Regions from separate parts of the Homo sapiens genome. Here regions 1 and 2 are each linked to region 3. Evidence: promoter capture Hi-C in human tissues and cell types (Jung and others, 2019). All regions are on one chromosome and are shown on one strand. The core of a region is centred on a gene start or on the middle of the fragment in contact, and the rest is flanking DNA. Distances in the headings are between cores, read along the strand shown. Region 1 has its middle 7.2 kb from the start of MIR9903. Region 2 has its middle 35 kb from the start of MIR9903. Region 3 holds the start of NIPAL2 (NIPA like domain containing 2).

Region 1 (4,914 bases), core at 722-3,221, 110 kb after region 3:
AACCCCCAATTCTCCCATCCCATGGAAGCCAGGAGATCCCAAACCCTCACCATCAGACTACAGGCTGTGCCTCGCCGCTCTTAGTCCTAGGGGACTTGACATCTCCTCAGTGCACTGAGATGAGGCATTGAGGACACAGACCTCACATTCCATCTGCATGCTCCCATCTCCCCCGAGGCTGCCAAAAATTGGACACTGGGAGATGGAGATGCTTGGCAGCTGGAGTCACTCCCAGCCTCGGGCAAATTTTCCAGGCTTTTACATCTTTGGAGAAGATGGTAATATTCCCTGTTTCTTCCAGATCCACACCGCCTAGGGTCAGAGATGCAGGGAGCTGGCCAAAACGCCTTTCTCTGTGATAAAGAGGCCACAGCGTTAAATCCCGTGAGTTCATCAACAGGTAACAAAATATTTTGCATGATTTGGCCTTGACTGAAAGGAAACTGTGAAATCTTCAAGGTGCTCTCTGTCCCTAGTGTGGACTCTCCAAAGAGGTCCTGGTCCCCAGCATGGCTACAGACGTTCACTGCATGTAATCCAGACCTCGTCTAATGCTATAAGCAAATAAACTGAATATTCAAAGAGAACAAATCACCAGTCCATCAAAATCCTTGGGGTAAATTAGTTCAGCAGACTGGACTAGAGACATACTCCGTGACTCACCCCCACCCAGAGTAAATAAGGGAAGATTAAGCAAAACTTGATTGAATCATGCTGAAGTTTGGCATAACTCAACAAACAGATCAGCCTGAAATCTCACATTAGGAACACATAATCTCATAAAATTTATGACTGTTATTGCTCACCACATATGTTTCTGGGTTACTGTGTGCCGGGCTACAAGCGAGCTTCATTGCTGGGGTCTTGAGGGGGCTGCCTGCTGATCCATAACGTATTTCAAGAAAGAAGACACATTCCCGGTTGACGCTCTTTGGCATGAGTTTCCACGTGGCCTGGCCACGGCAGGGAAGGAGACTGGAGGGGAGATATTGACAGTGGGAAGGGGGTTTTGTGCCATGCCCCAAGCGGGCCCCTTGGCAAAGTCTTGTTGAGATGCTGAAGGGAAGACTGGCAAACAAAGCTTTTCTATCTCTCTTAGCCTCAGTTTCCTTATTTGCAAAATAAGAGGTAAAATTAGACGATCTCTGAGGTCTTTTCAAGAAGATCAAAGGGGTGATTCATCTAAAGATAATTCACCTAAAGAGAATGAATTGCCGATCTACTGCCCTCCATCTCCAAAAGGAAGCCAGAGCAAGAACTGGCCACTATGTCACCAACTGAGAGCAGTAGAGAATGGGGTGTGGCTTACAGGAGGCCATGGAATGCCAGCCCTGAGATCTGGGAGGAAAGGAGAGATGACCACGTGCTTCGGGAGGGTCACCCTCTATTGCTGCCCAGAAATAAAACAGAGTTCAGAAGTGTTTGCAAACTTGTATCACCACTCCACCTTCCACTGCCCATTGATCGAGGCCCTTTTCCCCTCTGATCCCAAATGCAACCTCATGATCCTTCTTGATAGAAGCTGCTACCCACGCATCAGATCCCGGTGGTGAGCAAGAGCTGCTTTCCAACCCAAATGACACTCAGGCTCCCTCCAGACCCATGCTCAGGGATTCCAGGTCTGACTGTAGAGATGCAAGAATGCAGAGTCAGAGTCAGTGACAAGCCAGAGCCCCCAGAGGGGGAGCCAGTTCCTTGAAGTGAAGGGCCATCGTTTGCAGGAGATGGTTACTGAAGTCCAAGTCCAGGGATTCCATAATGAAAGGAAGAGCAAGCCCGTGAGCCCTGGACTCATTTATTGAAGCCCAGAGCAAGGCAACAGATTCCCAGGCCCCAAGGCTGTGCCCCCAGGTGTCACCACGAGGGAACACACATGTAGCAAAGGCAGGTGACATGTAGACACAGCAGGCGCCTGCCGTACTGAGGTTTGTCCCTCCCTGCACCCATCCCGGGCTCTGTCCTGAACGTCTCAGCTCAGCAATCTCTCTCACGCAGATCCCTGCCTTCCCTGCCAACAGCCAAGGTCTGACCCTTCTGACCCTCGGGCCCTCTTCCAGGCTTCTCCTGTTCCATTTCCAGCACTGCTGGCTCCATCCAGAAAGTTTTGAACAAAAGAGTAACATTTTTCTTTCTGGCTTGTTCACTTTCATGATGATTTTCACAGCCAATTCCAGTAAATCTGCTACAATAAAAGTCCCTATTCTTCATCCATGTTCTTCTAAATAATCTTAGATTTGATTTGAAGTCTATTTCAGTTAATATTTTGTCTTTTTTAAAAAAAAAATAGTTTTGTTGTTTTTTCCTGATTGTAACTCAGATATCAGCTGGGGACTGCCCTGCCCCTCAACATCTGTGAAATGTCCTGTGGCAGACTGTATTTTCCAAATAAGGCCACAACATTATTTTCAATCCCATATGTTCATTCCAGAACTTTGCAATTCCTCCATCGAGAGATGGCGGCTGTGTCATCTCTCCTTGAATCTGGGTGGGCCTTTTGACTGCTCCAACTGATGGAGTGCATATAATTGACTGTGCAACTTCCAAAAAGCAAGTTAGGAAGGCCACACAGCTTCCACCTGGCTCTCTCTCTCGGGACACATGCCTTAGGAGCCATGGACAGCCACGTAAGAAGTCCAGCCCCCTGAAGATGCCCGGCTGCCAGCACCATGCAGAGACCACATAGAGATGGAGAGAAATCGCAAGAAGCCCCAGGTGCTCCAGCTCCAGCTGCCTGAGGCTTTCCAGCCCAGACACCAGACATGTGGATGGGGAAGGCTTTGCTGGGACTCCAGCTGCAACTGCAGGAGAGACCCCATGCAAGAGCCACCCAGCGGAGCCCAGCCAACCCCCAGAACCTGGAAAGATATAATAAATGATTATTGTTGTTTGATGCCAATAAGTTTGAAGTGTTTTTTTAATGTAGCAATGGATAACAGAGACAATTTGGCTCAAGCTCAAGCAATTCTGTGTCCTGTGGAACTCACAAGGCTTTCCAAGGCTTCTGCTGATTCCTGGAAAAACAGAATGGATTGTTCATTTGTGGGTTGTATGTGTTCAGATGCTGCCTCTGTCTGACCCCACACAACATGTGAAATGTGGCTCCAATTTCATATCCCACAACAACAATCACTCACACCAAGCATCTGAGTGGGTAGTAGACCACGTGGGAGATTTAAGATTATGTTGCCGACCACATGGGATTTTGTCAACTTGCTCCCTTTTCTCCCCTACCTCTTCCCAGTCTCATCTCCTCTCAGGTTGCTCTGGGAACCCACATTCTTCTCTCCCTGCTATGAAGAGTAATTCAGGTTCCCTCAAGTGCCTAATCCCAAACTTCCAAACTTAAGCATATCAAGAATCCAGCCTTTACTGGAGCTAATTGAGGTTACAGACGAGCAATTATTCTTGTGCGCATGCATTGTAAAAAAAATTCAAGGAACACCCAGAAAAATAAAAGAAGAAAGTAAAAATTACCCCCAAATCCCACTACACGGTGATAACCACTATTAATGTTTGGTAAACATCCTATCTATATACAATTTTATATACATAAGATTATACTATCCTTGCTGTTCTATACTTCCCCAGGTATAATTGGTATTAATAATAGCTTTACCATTTATTTAGCACTTACTAAGTACTTAGCAATTATATAAAGGTAGCATCCTCATCACATCATTATCTTCTTTTTCCTAAGGGATCTTAGGGAGAGTCAGAGCAGGGACCTGAACCCAGACCCACCCAGCCATAAGGCCGGTGCACTTGCCACTAACCCATTCAGCCATAGCAGAATCTTTCCCCAAGATCTGCATACCACTGTGGAGAGACTATCCTGGCCTGCATATCTTGAGCCAGATCTAGCATCCTAACACATTCCTGTGTCCTCTTTCAGAGAGTCCAAGGGATCGGAGCTCCCTGGAGTCTGTGTTTGGCTCATTCCTGGTGAGGCTGAGTTTCTGAAAGGAAGCGAAAGTCTGGGCCCCACAGGAGAAACAGGGAGGGTTCTGTGTCCCCAGTACAGCAGAGCAAAGCCAGATAGGTGCTCTCCTCTGCCTCCGTGTCCCCTCCGGGACGGAGGGGGCCCTGCTGTCCTGGGAGTCTGGGGTGGTCTCCCATGAGTTCAGCCTGAATCATCTGCCTCCTCCTCCCAGGGAGTGTTTGTCCCAACTCCTGAGGGCCTCATCTGTGCAGGGCCAGCCAGGCGAGGAGGACATGCCTTGGGAACAGTCTGTGCTTGTTCCCTCAGCCCTAGAAGAGACTCTGCCAGGTGGTACTTGCCCTTCCCTGGGGAGGAGCCTGCAGTATGTTCTCTGTCAACCTTTACTGATGAGCACATGTTCCAAGCAGAGCCCCAGGGGACTAGCATCTTCTCTGACCCCTTCCAGAGAAACCCTGGGTGAGAGGCTGAGAGAGGAGACCCCACAATGGGGACACCGCAGCCCCAGAAGAGGAGGAGCAGCCTCTGGGGAGGGCCTGACCTTTCCTTTGTTGACTTTCTTGGGCCTTGCACTAATTGTGAAGAAGTAAAAACTGAGTTATCAGTCTCCAGCTGTTCCCACAGCTGCTGACATTTGAGGGAGGCCAAGGGCAGTGGACTCCTCCCCACCACACAACCACACTCGCAGCTGTCCACTTGAAGGTGGGCCTGCCTTGCAGGAGGTCCCCTTTGACTCCAGAGACTCAGACACTCCCAGCTCAGGGTAGGCGTTTAGAAGTTAGGCTGTGAATCCAAAAACCCCAGACTTGAGTTCTGGCTGCCACTTAATTACTTGAACCCAGGATAGTTTGCTTAACTCTTCTGAGCCTGGGCTTCCCCATCATCTTAGTTTTGTCTCCCCCATAGAAGTACCCCCTAAGATGGGTGTTCTGGTGCTGGTGTTTTAATTGGGAGGTGATCCCAGGAAGCCCCAGCAG
Region 2 (4,583 bases), core at 1,956-4,455, 66 kb after region 3:
AGCGTGGTCGGTCTGTGGCCAGCTGGCACTTACTTCTCTGCGATATAGAATTAAAGTATCTGGAACTGGGCAGATTACATATAAGACCTCCTAAATTGTAATTGGTGGGTCTGGTGTTTATAACCATTTTCAAGTGCACGTAGCCTGTCTGCCCTCTGAATTGAAGAAGGAAAGAGTCTTTGTGCTTTTTATTCTGGGTTTTCCTTCATGCCCTGAGCTTAAGATGCCATGAACATAATTTTCAAGTCCAGTGGGTTCTGGCCTTATTAGCTGACTGGATTAGCAGGGATCCAGCACTCCAATCAACTATAGAGATGCAAATTGGGTCTCCAGACTTTGACTCCTAAGGAGCCTAGTCTGGAAATGACCCAGGGTTTACCTGCCTGGGTCTCCAGGTAAAACCAGGATGCTGGCCTTGAAGGTGGGTTCTCACAGCAAGGATTCTAATCTCAAAAGAGATCAAGCCTTGAAGCTTAATCCGATTCTCTTGGGCCAAGTGTCCAGACTCTAATGGGAGTCTCATTTTCACAGAATGGTACTCCCAGAAGCACGGGATTCATACCTCAGTGCATAGCACACCGTACCTCATGCTTAACTGCAGCCACCATGGTTGGAGGTGTAAGGCTGGCACTGGCACTGGATGTGGCTGAGGCTGCCATGTGTGTGCTTACTAATAAAGGACTCTGTAACACACAACATCTGGAGGGAGGAAAAACAACTCTAATTGTGATAGGCACAACCCCTTTGGGTAACATAGTTGATACCCTTCTAATGGAGGGCGTGTTTCTCTTTGCCTTCTCCTTTCTGCTTCCTCCTGATAATTTGGCCAAGGCCCACAGGAGTTGACCCATTTCCAAATGTGTGAGTGGGTCCAGCTGAATCTGCCAGTGGGGGGCCTTTGAAGCTGTGAACAACACCCCCTCATCAGACTTTGAGACACATCCACCCCTTAAGAGACAAGCTTCAGGATATAAGGAGCCTCGGCAAAGCATGGAAATGTCAGATGTACAAGCATCTGGGGCTCAGCTTCAGCTACTGTGGCCTTTCCCCAGGACCCATGCCCAGGGTCCTCTTCCTGAACTCCAGCATCAACAGACCCCCTTCAATAAACTCCAACATTCAGAACATCAACAAGCGAGGGGATGGGGAAGGGCAGTGATTATTCCAAGGGCAGAGATGCTATCAGGTTTTGCTCCAAAAAGGATTTTTCGCCTCACACAAGAATTTGCTACGGATTTCCTTTTAAAAGTGCACACCCCAAGAACACTCAGCAGCTGATTCAGCTTAATGTGCAAATCCCCAGGAACACAATGCGTGAAGTGAGGTACACGGGCAATTGGGGCCAAGGTGCAGCAGAACTTCCCACCAGCAGGGGGAGCTCTTCCCCGGGTCAGGCAGCCATGGCAGGTCCAATCACACGCCCGTTACCCAATAAAAACATGCTGCAGTTTCAAGAGGGAGGAACAGAACTGAACCCTGCTGTCCAAAAAAAGACACCACAGATGCCCAGTAGGCTTGTGCTTTATCCTGAGGGCAATGGGGAGCCACGGAGGATTCTGAGATGTGTAGGGTTCTATCAGGGCTTCCAGTCGTTCTTGCCCAGTGCCTGTGACTTCTTTGAGGAATCTATTTCCAGGGATGGTGTTCCCTGCATTTTCGGCTCTTCTTTTAAAATGCATTACAGTGATGATCCATGAGCCACCTTCCAGGGACCCAGGGCAGGCTCAAGCTTAGGGGTGTTTCTCAAGAAGTGCATAGCTTCGTGTGTTGACTCAGAGGAAAGGTAGGCATGGTTTAGGGGAATGAGGGGGGAGTGACAGGCAGAAATGCTATTGTTTTTTGCTGCAGTGAAGCGCCAAGCCTTCAAACAAGAAGCTTGGCACCAAAAATGGTGCTGTTAGAAAGTTAATGGGCAAGACATTTTGAGAAAGTGTTGTGGAGATAAGCATCAAGAGGAAACGTCACTGTTTTAACTTTGCCGGCATCCAGGAAACCAAGAAAAGCAGAGCCACCCCTGAGCTGGACTGCAGCGCACACACGCACATGCTCATGGAATCCAAGCCCTGTCCAGAGACAAACATCTCCCAGAAGCAAATCAAGAGTGACTTTTCCGAAGAAAGAGCTGGGGAAATGGTATTTCCTTCCTGTGCTGAAGAACAGAGTTACGACATTCTAGGGAAGAGATGTGAGCTCCCAGGGGCAAGAACTGGGCACCATCCCGCTATTCCTGCTGAATATTAATAGCAAAAGCAAATATCTTGACTTCAGAGAGCTCCAAAAGACAGAGTCACCCAAGAGGAAGTGATGAAAAGGAGAAATGAGTGCCGGGCGCGGTGGCTCACGCCTGTAATCCCAACATTTTCGGAGGCCGAGGCGGGCGGATCACCTGAGGTCAAGAGTTTGAGACCAGCCTGACTAACATGGTGAAACCCATCTCAACTAAAAAAAAAAAAAAAAAAAAAAAAAAAAATTAGCCTGGTGTACTGGTGGGCGCCTGTAATCTCAGCTACTTGGGAGGCTGAGGCGGGAGAATCACTTGAACCGGGGAGGCGGAGGTTGCAGTGAGCTGAGATCAAGCCATTGCACTCCAACCTGGGCAACAGAGCCAGACTCTGGCTCAAAAAAAAAAAAAAGAAAGAAAGAAAGAAAAGGATAAATGAGTGTTTTCTTGAATGCTTTCTACCAGAATCAGGCCACTGTGATCTCCCTCACTGCAATAGTCTCCTAATGGGTTTGCCTACCTCTGATCTTGACTTCCTTCTCCCATTCAGCCTCCATAGAGCAGCCAGGAGGATCTTTCTAATCTGATCTGCTTAGAATCTTTCAGTGGCTCGCATACCCCAAATCTTTGATATAAGTCATGAGGCCCTCCAGACTCTCATCTCTGGGGAAATCTCAGAGGCTCATCTCTTGCCACTTCTTGGTCTTGCCCTTTCTGCTCTAATCATTCTGAAACCCTGTAGCTCCCTGAATGTGCCATGTTTCCAGTGGCATGGGAAGGGTAAACAGTCCTGGGGACCTTGTAGCTCCCTGAATGTGCCATGTTTTCAGGGGCATGGGAAGGGTAAACAGTGCTGGGGACGTTGTAATGTACCTTGTGTCCTTTCTCTTTATCTTGGCTGGAAGTTGCCAAGACTCTCATCTTTGAGGGCCCACCATAAACTGGGACATATGGTCTCTTCTGTCCCCTCTTTGCTGTATCCCTGTATGGTTTTTACTTACCTTCGGGGTCTTTGCAAATACCTGGGGGTTCCCCTTTCATCCTTTTCTCCCCATTTTGTCCTTCAAATCTTGAATTAGAAATTATTACATTAGAAAAGCCTATTCTGACTCCCCAAAACTGGGAGGGACACCTGGTATCTCTCTCCCACGTTGCCCTGTGCTTATCTCTCTTGCACCATTTGCACACTGTGTGTAACTCCCTGCAGACCTGCCCATCCCATCCACCCTGTAAACTTGCGCTCCACAAAGGTGGGACCTTCTTCCCTCTGTGTCTCCATGCCTAGTCCAGTGCCTGTCATACTGTGGGAGCTCAGTAATATTTCCTGAATGATCATATTCCTTTCTCCAAGGCTACGAAGACAACCATGTCTTTTTGAGCCAATTTCTTTCTTTTTTTTTTTTTCATTAATTTCCCCAAGCCCCCAACAAACAGTAAGATCTATTTTTAATGATGCCACAAGCTGGCCTGTAAATGATGCATTCATTGTCAGATACATTTGGCCGTTGTTTGTACTTGCAAGGAATATTCCTCCTTCCTTGAGAGCTCTCACTCACAGACACTTTCATTACTTTAATATTTTACGATGCAGCCATTTTGGAAGACATAAGGGCATCATCTCTGTTTAACTAAATGTCAAAGTAAAGTAGTCAAGGCTAGTGGCTCTCTTGGCATGCCAGTGATTAGATAGCTTTGTTAACAGGCCAGTTGGGCTGAGGCTATGTGATTACACGCTCTCAGCTACTTCTATGCAAAATGATCCATAAACAAATAAAGATCATGGATTGCAAAAACATTTTCCAGGGGTGTCAGAGTGTCCCTAAACGTTCAGTTCACTCTCTTCAACCTTCCACATCTATAGCACCCAAGCTCCACAGGACACAAAATCACAAGGTCAAAATTGGATTTTGTCAGTCTGATAATCTGCTATTTTCACACTCCTGTAGACCCAAAACCCTGCAGAATGTATAAACTAAGGTATTAGATTACACTGAGTACCCCCCTTCCCAACCAGACTGGACAAGAGAGAACTTACACCTGACTTTAATGAGTGCTCAGAAGTGGCCAGCGCCCTTGGAGGCTGAAGAGCTTCATGCTGGGAGTTTAAGGCCCACACACTCTGCAGACCAGGCCTTGCCTCCTGCCCACGGTGCCAGAGGTGGTAGCTGCAGAAAAAAAAATGCAGTGCTTCTTTTTAAAACAAGGCATGACCCCCATATATATATATTATGGTGTGGTTAAGGGCATAGGCTCTGGTGCTGGGCTGATGGTTTGTAGTTTGTTCTGGCACTTGATAGTTTTGTAAACCTGTGGGTTATTTAACCTCTCTGTGCCTCAGTTTCCTCATCTGTGGCATGCAGGT
Region 3 (4,179 bases), core at 1-2,500:
CTTGAAAACTAATAAAGTGAACATGCTTATTTATCTTACTTATTCTTTATACAAATATATTCTCTTCTGCATTCAGAAATTAATATTTAGAACACTTCAGGCATAAAAGGAATCCAGATCTTTGATAATTGGTTAAACTCTCCGATTTAGGACAACAGCAACAAATATTTTCTGATTATATTGTTGCAAAAATAAAAGTATCCATGGTTTTGTTAAAGAACAAGAACAAAGTAACACATTTAATGAAAACAGGAGGAAGCCTGGAATCCACCGTGATAAAACTTAGTTGCAATATGAACGCTGCTAGAGGAAGGGCTGGCCAGAACACTTCCTCATCTTAAACCAAGCCAAAAATAAATGGGCGGCTCCAAGTCCCTTTGATTTTGTTAAATGTATATTTCCAGTGTAAACTGGCGTTGTTTAAGTTAACAAAGTTTTCCCAAAGGGCCGGTGGGAAAGAATGAGAGTCCTGCAAATGCAACCTGAGAAAATGTGTTCCTCGCACGGAAATGGAAGAGCTGTGTTGAGATACCAGGGACACACGCAGGGCATCTGCGCGAGGTGACATTAGGCTGCCCTTAATGAGTTTTCTGCTTCTGATAACAGGGTGTCACTTTTTTCTTTTCTTTTAACTGTAAAAGGATCCTGGGGTGAAAATGAGTGAATTGCCCCCACACTCCTAGATTCCTTCCGGGAGAAGAGGGCGGACGCAGGCTGGGGAGGCGGGATCGGGACCCGGAGGTCCCAGGAACGGGTGGCTGAGGTCAAGGCCGAAGACCTGGGCGCCCACTCCCAGTGCCGGGTGCCCGGGAGAGGAAGACTGGGCGGACCCCCGCGCTTCCGGATGAGGCGGACTTAGGTCAATGCGGGAAACATTGCATGTCACCTCTTCCCACTCGGAGAGGCCGGGTGTCTTCCTGAGAGCTGGCAGGAAAGCGGCCGAGGCGCAGAGGCGCCCGGAGCCAGCCGCCCTGGCCGCGTCCCCACCGGGCTGCGGTGGCTGCGGGGCGGCCCTTACCTGGTTCCTGCGGTACCAGTCGCCCGAGAGGGAGCCGTTGCCGGCGCCTGGTGCCCCGTACGTGAAATTCAGTGACAGCTCGTCCAGGGCGGCCGAGGCGGAGTCCCCGGGGCCCGCGGGCGCCACCGCTGCCATGAGGTCTCGCTCCCGGCGCTCGGGCTCCGGCTCGGGCTGCGGCCGCCTCCCCGCCCTGTTGCACCGCGAGGAGGCCGCGCCGCAGCCACTTCCTGCTCGGTGCCCGGGCGAGGCGGGCGCGCCGAGGCCACCTGGCTCCCGCCCCCGCGCGGCCGTAGGTGCTCCCAGCCTGGCCGGGCGCTGCCTCCTCTCCTCCTCCGGTGCGAGGTGTCCTCGGGGAGCCCGGCGGTCTGCGGCCTCCCGGGGCCGTCCAGCTCGCACCGCGCCCTCCTTCCGCTGGGCCAGTGTCTGCATCCTCGGGGCCGCACTGCCCAAGGGGGCAATCCCCGCGGCCGTCCGCAACGGGTCCCCGCGCCTGTCGGGGCCAGAATCAGATCATCTCCGTTGTAAACATTTGTCCAAGTCAATGGAAGAGGAGGAGACACTGACTAACCCAAAGCAGCTATCATCTCCCATCTCTACCTGGCAATTCCAGTCCTCTATCACATATGTAGTGTTTCTCACCGATATTTTAAAAATTGATTGCATATGAAAAAGTCATGAGTTCCCAGAAATATTGTAAGCAATATGAGAAAAAAAGATCCGAGCGATTGAATCTCAGTGCCAGTGCTTGATAGATCCTTAGTAAATATTCCTTGAATGAGGAATGTGGTAGCCATAGGACCCCAGTGTGCGATGACTGGATTGGGTTTGCTTCAGATGGGATCAGGTGGAGTTGCTGAAAAGTTGCCAGCTACTGTATATATGAATTTAGGATGAAAGATAAATGTTGTTATTAATCTTAAGAACTCTAACGAGATGTTCTGGTTTTACCTGTATTCAAATTCTAATGTGTGACCACAAATGATCTGTAGGGTATTTCTCACTTTAAAAAAACCATGATTCTATACTGTTGCCTGAAGGCTGATAGTTGCCTTCTTTTGTTTACACAATGCTGAGGTTTTTCTTAGATAATGTGCTTTGACTTCCATGAGTTCATGAAAGAGAGACCTTCAAGAAAAGAGAATTGCTGCCTAGAAGGGAGCAGGGACAGTTTTCAGTGTTTCTTAGGGGAAATGTGCAAATGAGAGAAAAGAGTGAGAAAAAGTCATTTCACATACAGAAAAAACAAGACATGTCGTCTCAGAAATTGTGTAGTTTCTTGCTTAAGCACTCGAGATGTTCAGTGAACAGCTAACAATTGTAGGTAACTATTCCCAATTTTAAGAGGCTGATTTACTTCAAATAAATATCTGAAGGAAAAAGGTCTCTATTTGTTATATTACATTTTATTTTATTTTTTGAGACAGGGTCTTGCTCTGTTGCCCAGGCTGGAGTGCAGTGGTGTGATCTTGACTCACTTTAGCCTCATATTCCTGGGCCCAAGTGATCCTCCCACCTGGGACTACATACAGGTGCATGCCACCATGCCCAGCTAATTTTTTTTTTTTTTAGATAGAGTCTCTCTCTCTTGCCCAGGCTGCAGTGCAGTGGCACAATCTCAGCTCACTGCAACCTCTGCCTCCTGGGTTCAAACAATGCTCCTGCCTCAGCCTCCTGAGTAGCTGGGACTACACGTGCACACCACCAAGCCCGGCTAATTTTTGTATTTTTAGTAGAGACAGGGTTTCACGGTGTTGGTCAGGCTGGCCTCAAGCTCCTAACCTCCAGTGATCCCCCTGTCTTGGCCTCCCAAAGTGCTGGGATTACAGGTGTGAGCCACCACACCTGGCCCTGGCTAATATTTTTCTATTTTTTTGTAGGGACAGGGTCTCGCAATTTTTCCTAGGCTGGTCTAGAACTCCTGGCCTCAAACAGTTGTCCCACCTCGGCCTCCCAAAGTGGTGGGATTACAGGTGTGAGCTGCCATGCCTTGTCTGATAAGTTTTCTATAACATCACATTCATTGATATTGGTGACTTCATTAATGCTTCTTTCTCTTCACATGCTTTAGGGTGCAAGTAACAGAGTATCCAAATAAAAGTGGCTTAAACAATAATTATCTGCTATCTCCAGAGGAATGTGTCTCTATGTGGTTCTATTATGTCGTCACTTCCACCTTTCTGCTCTGCTATCCCTGAGGTACTGGTCTTGTCCATTGAGGGAGGAAAGCCTTTTCCAGAATCCTCCTGGCATCCTTTCACCTCAGATCCCATTGGCTGGGACTGGGTCACATGCCCATGTTCTACCAGCAAGGGAGGCTGGGAAAGTGATTCTTGGGTATTTCCAACCTAGTGAGAGGTAAGCTCTACCAACCAGGATGAGTGGGAATGCCATGGGGTTATGGGGGAGGGGAACCAGTCAACCCTGGTACAACCACTCTAGTATTTTTCTATCAGCCAGATTGTAAGTAGTTGTACAGTTGCTAACAAGCAAAATACTAAATGGATTGTGTTACTTTCTGGTTTAAAATGCCTTGAAGCCTCCCTATTGCCATAATGAAGTCCACACTTTTTTTTTTTTTGAGACAGAGTCTTGCTCTGTCACCCAGGCTGGAGTGCAGTGGCACAATCTCGGCTCACTGCAAGCTCCGCCTCCCGAGTTCACGCCATTCTCCTGCCTCAGCCTCCTGAGTAGCTGGGACTACAGATGCCCGCCACCACGCCCAGCTAATTTTTTGTATTTTTAGTAGAGTCTGGGTTTCATCGTGTTAGCCAGGATGGTCTCGATCTCCTGACCTCATGATCCACCCACCTCAGCCTCCCAAAGTGCTGGGATTACAGGCGTGAGTCACCACGCCCAGACAATTTTTTTTTTTTTTTAATTTTTTGTAGAGATGGGGTCTCATTATGTTTCCCAGGCTGGTCTAGAACTCCTGGCCTCAAACAATTCAGTGAGACTTCTGAATAAAACTAAGTTTAATTCTTTAAAAGCTTGATTTTTTTCCCTTTAGTTGATACTCTGCTATACTCAACTTGTTCCCATTTTATTTCTTAATTTAAAAAAACATTTTCAATTTCTTTACATTTGTTTAAAACCTCTAATTTTGGAGGAAGATGGTACATGATGCAGAGAAGATTTGATGTACAGCCTACCACGTGGTGTTC

The links. Contacts are between HindIII fragments. The study calls those that stand out against the background at their distance.
Region 1: a contact is called between a fragment that was not itself captured here and the fragment with the promoter of NIPAL2 in region 3, in 3 of the 25 tissues and cell types used here (IMR-90 fibroblasts, adrenal gland and lymphoblastoid cells).
Region 2: a fragment that was not itself captured here is called in contact with the fragment with the promoter of NIPAL2 in region 3 in 4 of the 25 tissues and cell types used here (IMR-90 fibroblasts, heart left ventricle, lymphoblastoid cells and 1 more).

Annotation. Positions count from the first base shown.
Region 1 is chr8:98,398,503-98,403,416 of GRCh38, forward strand. It overlaps a transcript of STK3 not described here. Among named protein-coding and RNA genes, the nearest start is that of MIR9903, 7.2 kb to the left of the region's middle. The HindIII fragment of the contact is 6,459 bases long and covers 1-4,914 here.
Region 2 is chr8:98,356,904-98,361,486 of GRCh38, forward strand. It overlaps a transcript of STK3 not described here. Among named protein-coding and RNA genes, the nearest start is that of MIR9903, 35 kb to the right of the region's middle. RefSeq lists a silencer at 1,978-2,272. The HindIII fragment of the contact is 4,979 bases long and covers 717-4,583 here.
Region 3 is chr8:98,292,985-98,297,163 of GRCh38, forward strand. It overlaps NIPAL2 (NIPA like domain containing 2), which reads right to left and starts at 1,251. Exons shown (of 11, transcript NM_001321635.2): 1 at 1,019-1,251. The coding sequence starts at 1,153. The region is part of intron 5 of LOC105375659 (a long non-coding RNA gene); the gene reads left to right. RefSeq lists a silencer at 771-1,490. The HindIII fragment of the contact is 9,267 bases long and covers 1-4,179 here.